2 separate regions of the Homo sapiens genome follow, and region 2 is linked to region 1. Evidence: promoter capture Hi-C in 16 types of primary human blood cells and fetal thymus (Javierre and others, 2016). All regions are on one chromosome and are shown on one strand. Each heading gives the region's core, a stretch centred on a gene start or on the middle of the fragment in contact. The rest is flanking DNA. Distances are from core to core; before and after follow the strand shown.

Evidence for each region. Contacts are between HindIII fragments. The CHiCAGO score rates a contact against its expected background, and 5 or more counts as called.
Region 2: a fragment that was not itself captured here is called in contact with the fragment with the promoter of EPHX3 in region 1 in 4 of 17 cell types (activated CD4 T cells, total B cells, naive B cells and 1 more); the score reaches 5.9 in activated CD4 T cells.

Annotation. Positions count from the first base shown.
Region 1 is chr19:15,230,927-15,234,391 of GRCh38, forward strand. It overlaps EPHX3 (epoxide hydrolase 3), which reads right to left and starts at 1,522. Exons shown (of 7, transcript NM_024794.3): 1 at 1,043-1,522; 2 at 850-935; 3 at 313-470; 4 at 36-164. The coding sequence starts at 1,285. RefSeq lists an enhancer at 1,272-1,773 and a silencer at 2,112-2,271. The HindIII fragment of the contact is 10,766 bases long and covers 1-3,465 here.
Region 2 is chr19:15,396,811-15,400,275 of GRCh38, forward strand. AKAP8L (A-kinase anchoring protein 8 like) reads right to left here. Exons shown (of 14, transcript NM_014371.4): 9 at 2,492-2,600; 10 at 904-1,045; 11 at 710-815; 12 at 340-470. Among named protein-coding and RNA genes, the nearest start is that of AKAP8, 19 kb to the left of the region's middle. The HindIII fragment of the contact is 5,088 bases long and covers 1-3,465 here.

The DNA.
Region 1 (3,465 bases), core at 272-2,771:
AAGTACATCCCAGTGTCCCGGACTCCCACACACACCTTGGTACACCGACATGGGGGCACCACTGACCACAACCATCCGCTCGACCAGGGATGGGTAGTAGATGGAGAAATGCCAGGCAAGGAGGGCACCCCAGTCATGGGCCACAAGGATGCACTTCGAGTAACCTGTGGGAATTCAAGGAGCTCGCATAAGTGAGGTGCCCAGTAGGACTGAAGCAGGGATGGGGGAAGTAGGTTCCAGCAAGGAGAAAGCGGGGGTATGCGTGTGTGCAGGATGAGGGAGGCCACGCCTAGGATGGGGGTATGTCTGCACCCAGGCCTAGGATGACATCTTTGATGTCCACCAGCAGCAGGTCGATTGTGTAGCAGTCCACATCCCGAGGTGCATCCGAGGGGCCATAGCCTCGCAAGTCCACAGCCACAACATGGAAGCGGCTCTGGAACTCCCGGAGCTGGTAACGCCAGGAGAACCTGCCAGGCGGGCGAGGGAGGGAGGCTGAGTCAGGGCCCTCAGGTTGCACCTGCACCCTACGCACATCAGCAACCATTGGCAAACCCTCCTTCCTGCTCTAAACTTCCCCTAAAAGGAGGATGGGGAATCCCAGGCAGAGGCAGAGGCTGAGGCTGAAGCCAGCTACACCCTGAATCCAGGGAACTTCAATCAACCTCAATACCCCTTTGTCCTGTCCCTTCAGGGCCTAGGGATCCTGGGTATGCTGGCTCAGTACCCCTATCCCCATCTATGTTCAGCTTGTCCCGATCTATACAGCCCTCCTCCCTGCCTCTTGGGAGCCCAAGCTCCACCTGCCCCCGAGTCCCGTGGGCCTCAGGCCCCTGGCCCCAGACGTACCAGTTCTCAGGGAAGCCGTGCAGAAACAGCATGAGGGGTCCGTTACCTCGTCCAGCCGAGACATAGTGCAGACGCAGGCCCGAGCTCTAGGGGGAGGGCACAGCCTGAAGCCTGGGGAACCCTCTCTCCCGAGGCTTGAACCGTCTCGACCCCACGCGACCCCGCAGCCCCGATAGCGCCCCCGTGCGATCACCTTGAGGTTCAGGAAACCGTGCTCACCCAGCGAGGGGTCGCTCAGGCAGGCGGGGGACGCGCTCCGACGGCGCCCGCAGCAGCCGCGCCGGGGCCGGCACAGCACGTGCGTGAGCGCTATGCAGCCGTAGACCGCCGCGGCCACCAGCGCCACCGAGAACACCAGGCTCCACATGAAGGCGCGCAGCAGCTTCAGCGACAGGCGCGACGGCGCCAGCAGCGCGGTCACCACCAGCTCCGGCATGTCGCCGCGCTCCGGGACCACGGCGGCGCTGCCGGCCAGGGGCACCTGCAGCAGCGGCGAAGCGGTGTCAGGGCTCAGGGGCCCATCGCCCTTGGCCTGGGGCCCCTCCGTGCCGTCGGGATTTGTGGGACGCGCTGAAGGAAGAGGCGGGCGGCTCCGACAGAAAACAGCCAGAGCGCACCACTCACCTGAGTGCCAGGTAAACACCTGGGCGCGACAGGGACAGGAAACAAGGGTAGGGTGCGGAGGCTGGGGAGGAAGAGGTTGGAAAGGGGGGAAATAAATGGGCGGGGCCTAGCAGGTCCTGTGCGGGGCTTAGGGCCGGGGCGGGGCCCAGGAAGACTCAGCAGCGGGTGGGTGAGGGTCTAAAGGCGGCAATTCCGGGCCGGGTGCGGTGGCTCACGCCTGTAATCCCAGCACTTTGGTAGGCCGAGGCGGGCGGATCACCTGAGATCAAGAGCTCGAGACCAGCCTGGGCAACGTGGTGAAACCCCGTCTCTACTAAAAATACAAAAATTAGCTGGGCGTGGTGGCGGGCGCCTGTAGTCCCAGCTACTTGGGAGGCTGAGGCAGGAGAATCGCTTGAACCCGGGACGTGGAGGTTGCAGTGAGCTGAGATCGCGCCACTGTACTCCAGCCTGGGTCACAACAGGGAAACTCCGTCTCAAAAAAGAAAAAAAAAAAAGGCAATTCCGAGCCCAGACAAACCTTAAGGAGGGGATCCTGGATCTTCAGTTAAGTGGGCGACACCTGGAGTGAGGGGCGGGGCATATGCAGAGTAGGTGCGGCCTACAAGCCAAAAAGGAGAAAGAGTTGGAATGGTGGGCCTGGCTTATGCGGGTGGGCGGGGAGAGGGTGGATCCTAGAGGAGGTGAGGCCTAACATTGGGCGAAGAAGGCGGGAGCCTGGGCCAATGAGCTGACGGTAGGCCGGGGAGGGGGCGGTGGGGTGGGGTGGGCAATGGGCAATGAGACGGAGGGCGGGGCCGGGACCTAATATGGCGGGTCAGGAGGGTCTGGAAGACGAAGAAGAGGGACAGGCAATGCCAGGTCTAGGACTAGGAGGGAGGCGCGGGCGGTATTAGCGGCTGGAGGAGGCTTCGGGAGGCCCGGCCGACGGCCGCCGCCTGGTGCTACCCACCCAGGGGCGCGCGACCCTCCCTTCGGTCTGGCTCCAAAGACCTAGCAGCACTGACTTCACCCAGCTGTGGTTCCAACGGCGGGTCCAGCGGCCTCGGCCCGGCGCCGTCCTCCTGCTGGCCCAACAGGCCCGCCAGCCCGCCCCTGTACGTCTGTGATTGGACGGCGGCGGCCACTGATGTTCAAGCGACAGGTCCTGGCCCGGGAGCCAATCTGCAGGTGTTGAGGCCCAGGCTCCGAGAGCGGGCCGAGGAGGCGTGGATACCCTGATTCCTAGGGGGCAGGCCTGGTTCCCCCGAGGAGGACCCGGCCTATGAATGACTGGAGTTCTGGGGTTCTGGCCGAAAGAGGAAGTGGGACAGGGCCGGGTGTGATGGGGCCTAGAGTCACAGAGCCTTGCGGCCCTGCTGTCCCTGCAAGAAGCCAGCTTCTGGCCAGGCGCGGTGGCTCACGCCTGTAATCCCAGCACTTTGGGAGGCCGAGGCGGGCGGATCACGAGGTCAGGAGATCGAGACCATCCTAACATGGTGAAACCCTGTCTCTACTAAAAATACAAAAAATTAGCCAGGCGTGGTGGCGGGCGCCTGTAGTCCCAGCTACTAGGGAGGCTGAGGCAGGAGAACGGCGTGAACCCAGGAGGCGGAGGTTGCAGTGAGCTGAGATTGCGCCACTGCACTCCAGCCAGGGCGACAGAGCGAGACTCCGTCTCAAAAAAAAAAAAAAAAGCAGCCAGCTTCTTCCTCCTATTTTGCAACCTTCTCCCGATATCCTTGAACATTTTAGGGACAGCCATCACTTAACCATAGAGCAACCCTATTAAGTCTAAGTAGCATAATCACATTCCTGTAGTATAGATCATGAACCTGAAATTCGAGGATGAAGTCATTTGCCTGAAGACATACATCTTGTAAAATAGCCATCCGCAAAGATGTAGGGAAAAAGGCAGCGATCTGTGGCTACACCTCCCCTTCCTCCCGGAAGCAGCCACTGGAACGTTTTTAGCTTTTTCTTTTTTTTTCAGATGGAGTTTCGATCATAGCT
Region 2 (3,465 bases), core at 513-3,012, 170 kb after region 1:
TGCAGCTCTCCTGAGCCTCAAGCCCAACCCCCTCCTCCAGCAACACTTGCACTGTATCATCTCCATTTGGTTTCTGAACCTAATCTGGCGCTGGCCCCTATGAACATGGAGGTCCCCATATCCCACAGAATATATCACCTTCTCCCAGGCAGAGTCCCCATCTCTCACCCCTCTCTCTGTAGCTGTGCTGCCTGCACTGAGCTGGAAATGTCCATATCCACCTCCTCCTGCCTCCACTGCAGTCCCTCACGGGCTGGCAGAGGTTCCAACTGCACAACCTCCCCAGAGGCCTCACTCAATCTACCCACAGGACAGAGGGAGAGCACTGTGGCCACTCACCCTGCGGTTCCGGTTGTGATCCATGGTCTTCAGATGCTTCTGGATGATCCCAAACTGCATGGGAATGAAGAGGTCGCAGGCTGCACAATGGGCTGCCTCCACCTTCTTCACAAAATGCTCCATGGCAATTTCTGTAGTGGGGAGGAGGGAGTCACCACTGGGCCCAGGTGCCTAAGATAGACCCAGGTGTTCGAGAAAAAAACCACACCAGCTCCTCCTCAACTCGCCCTGCCACTTCCACCTGGGCCTGAGCCAAGGCTGGTCTCCTGACCTTCCCTGGGGGAACAGAAGGGTGTCCTGACCCTGCACCGAAAATCAGGAGTGCAGGCTGAGGCCTTGCCTGGTGGGAGTGGGCTGAAAATCTCCTCACCCTGGGTCAGATCCTGGTCTCTGTAGATTTGCTGGATGAGGCCATCAAGGTCCTCCACGGTTTTTCGGAGCTCCTCTGTCTTCTTGGTCTTGTTAGTGACGTACTCCTGCAAGGAATATAAAGGTTCATGTGGGCCGCCTTATGTTCTCAGGGGTCCAAGAAACTAAGAGCGGCTGTGTTACTCCAAGGCTCACCTGCAGAAAGTCAGCCGTCTGCTTAGGGAGCTTGGTGCCTACGTACTTAAAGTGTTCCTTGTGGAACTTGCTGTCAAGATGGCTGGCCATCTCGTCCTCATAGAAGGTCCGGTATTTGCACAGAGAACACACAAACTGGATCCTGCCACAGGAAGGAAACGAGGGGCTGAGGCTGCAAGTGTCCCAGGGGATAGTGCTGCCGCCTCACCCAACCCAGACACAAGCCCTGAAACAGGCCTTGCTCACGGGCCTCTGAAGTACGGTCCCAGCAGAGGGACAGGCTGGGACCAGTGGGGTCGGGAGTAGAAAGGGCCAGAAAGTCTGCAGGCTGCAGTTACTGCAACGTAGGGGACAGGGGAGGAGCTCTTCCTTCCCACAGGCAGGAGGCTGAAGCCTGAGACAGCAGCTGCTGCAACAGGCAACGAGTCGCTGGAAAGTTGCTGGAGGGCCTCGCTACCAAGGCTGGGCAGGAGCGTGTGCACTTGGCCCAGGTGGGGACCGGAAGGAAGGATGCCCTGGCGTGAGCCAGGTGGCCCTGAGGTGCAGAGTGGAGTACGCAGTCCCGAGGCAGGGCCCGAAAAGGTGCTGCATCTTCCTTCTGGGATCTGGGGGACTCAAAGGCCCAGCCCATCCTCTGCTCAGAATGCTTGGGGGTGGTGTCGGGAGGGATGGGAGGCAGCAGGCCTGGGCACCTGCTGCCTCATCTTCCTCTTCCAAGAAGAGACCAGTCTGAGCTGGAAGGAGGGCGCCCGCTCGGCCTGCCAGAGGGCAGCCTGGAGTCACCTGGGCGAGGTGCTCTGTCTGGGCCTGGTGTCCACAGTAGAAGCCCGGGGTCTGGGGCCTGGGCCGGAGCAGGCCGCCGTGGCAAGGGGCGGAGGAGGCCAGCCGCCACCGAGACCTCGGGGCGGGTCCCTACCTCTGCCGGACGTCCTTATCTGGGCCACGGGGTCAGCTTTGTCTGGAGAGCCCAGGGGCCGGGCGCCGGCGAGGCTGAGGAAGGTCCAGCAAGAGCAAGAGTCTGAGGCGGAGGAGGCAAGCGCCAGTGCGGGAGCCCTGAGGGCAGACAGACCCGACCAAGGGGCGTGAAGGGCTCAGCCGCAGACAGGCCCGGCCTGACAGGGCCGGCGGGCAGGGCAGAAGGCAGGCCCGAGGCTGCCACAGCCCACAGGTGCTGCCATCTCTCCTGGGCACGGCGGTGGCCTCTTGGCAGCTAGCTGGGGCGGCACAGGCGCCTTGGACCTTGAGTCTCTGATGAGCTGGCCCCCTCCCTCAGGGGCATCAGGCCCCCAGTGCACCTTGGGGTTCGTGCGCCGAGTGACCTAGCGCCAGAGCTTCTGAGCAACGGTGCCGAGCGGTGTCAGGTCTCGGCCCACAGACGCCAGCGGTCGCCAGGCGGCCGCAGAGGGGCAGGGGATGAGTCAGGCCTTGGGAGCTGGGCCTGGCGGGAAGCAGGGTCCATGCACGGCCGAGCAGGTGGCGGCTCCCAAGGGAGGCCAGAGGGCGGCGAGCTGGCAGAGCTATGGCCCTGCTCTCCTGGCGGCAGCCCCACAGCGAGGCAGAGGCAGAGGGGTGGAGGGAAGCTGGTTACCTTTCCACCATGCGGTCTCGCTGCCGCTTTTTCTGCTTGTCCTGACTCTTCTTGCCTGCCTGCAACTTGCGCTTGGTCTGGCCATTTTCATCCTGGGTGGTTAGGGCCCCTGTGGGAGCAGATGGGCACTGTCACCAATTTGGCTCTGCCAGGACAGGGCAGGCCCTGCGGCCTCTGGCTGAATCACCCACTGTCCACTCCAGAGGGTCCATCGAGAATAGCTGTCCAAGCAAGGCCTCTGGCCATGAGCAGGGCTGGGTATCCTGGGCTGTGCAGGGAGTGGGTTTGGCCTAGGCCCCAAGGAGTGGGGGCCAGGCGATGACCCCTCCACTCTCCAGGACACCCATGCTCTCTGTGCAGTGGGCCAGGAGGAGGCTGGAAAGCAAAGAGGGGGTATCTTTGTGGGGACACTGGCACATGTTCAGAGGGGCCAGGTGGTGGGATGCAGGGAGGCTGCTCACATGGCCCTGCCCACCCCCAACCGGGCACCGCGGCAACAGTGGGCTGACGCTGGATTTGCTGTTAGGTACCTGCTGGCGCTCATCACTCAGGTGGGGGGACACGGAATCCCAACAGGGGCTGGAGAGGTGCTAAGGGAGAGGATACGCACACCAGAGCCGTAAAAACTGCACCGAGGGTCCCAGATCGGACACCAGCCACTGAGGACTTGGAACTGCGCGTTACTGAGGGACCGAGGGCAGGGGGCGTGCCTGGGGTTCCCCACACTTTTACTAGCTGCCCCCATCTGAAGGCAAAACCAGTGTGCTAGGCAGGGGTCACCACCATCCACAGCCTCCGCCTGGGAAGGAGGAGGAAGAGTGGGAAGGGGGTGGAGGCGGCGAAAAGAAAGCCCCCTGCCAGCACACACTCGGGCCCACAAGGGAGGTCCCCAACTGGCCGCATGTCTGCCGCAACCCTGCCCTCAGCTGGGTCCCTCCCACTGTGAGCCCCTGGAAGAGCCGCCCTAGCACCAG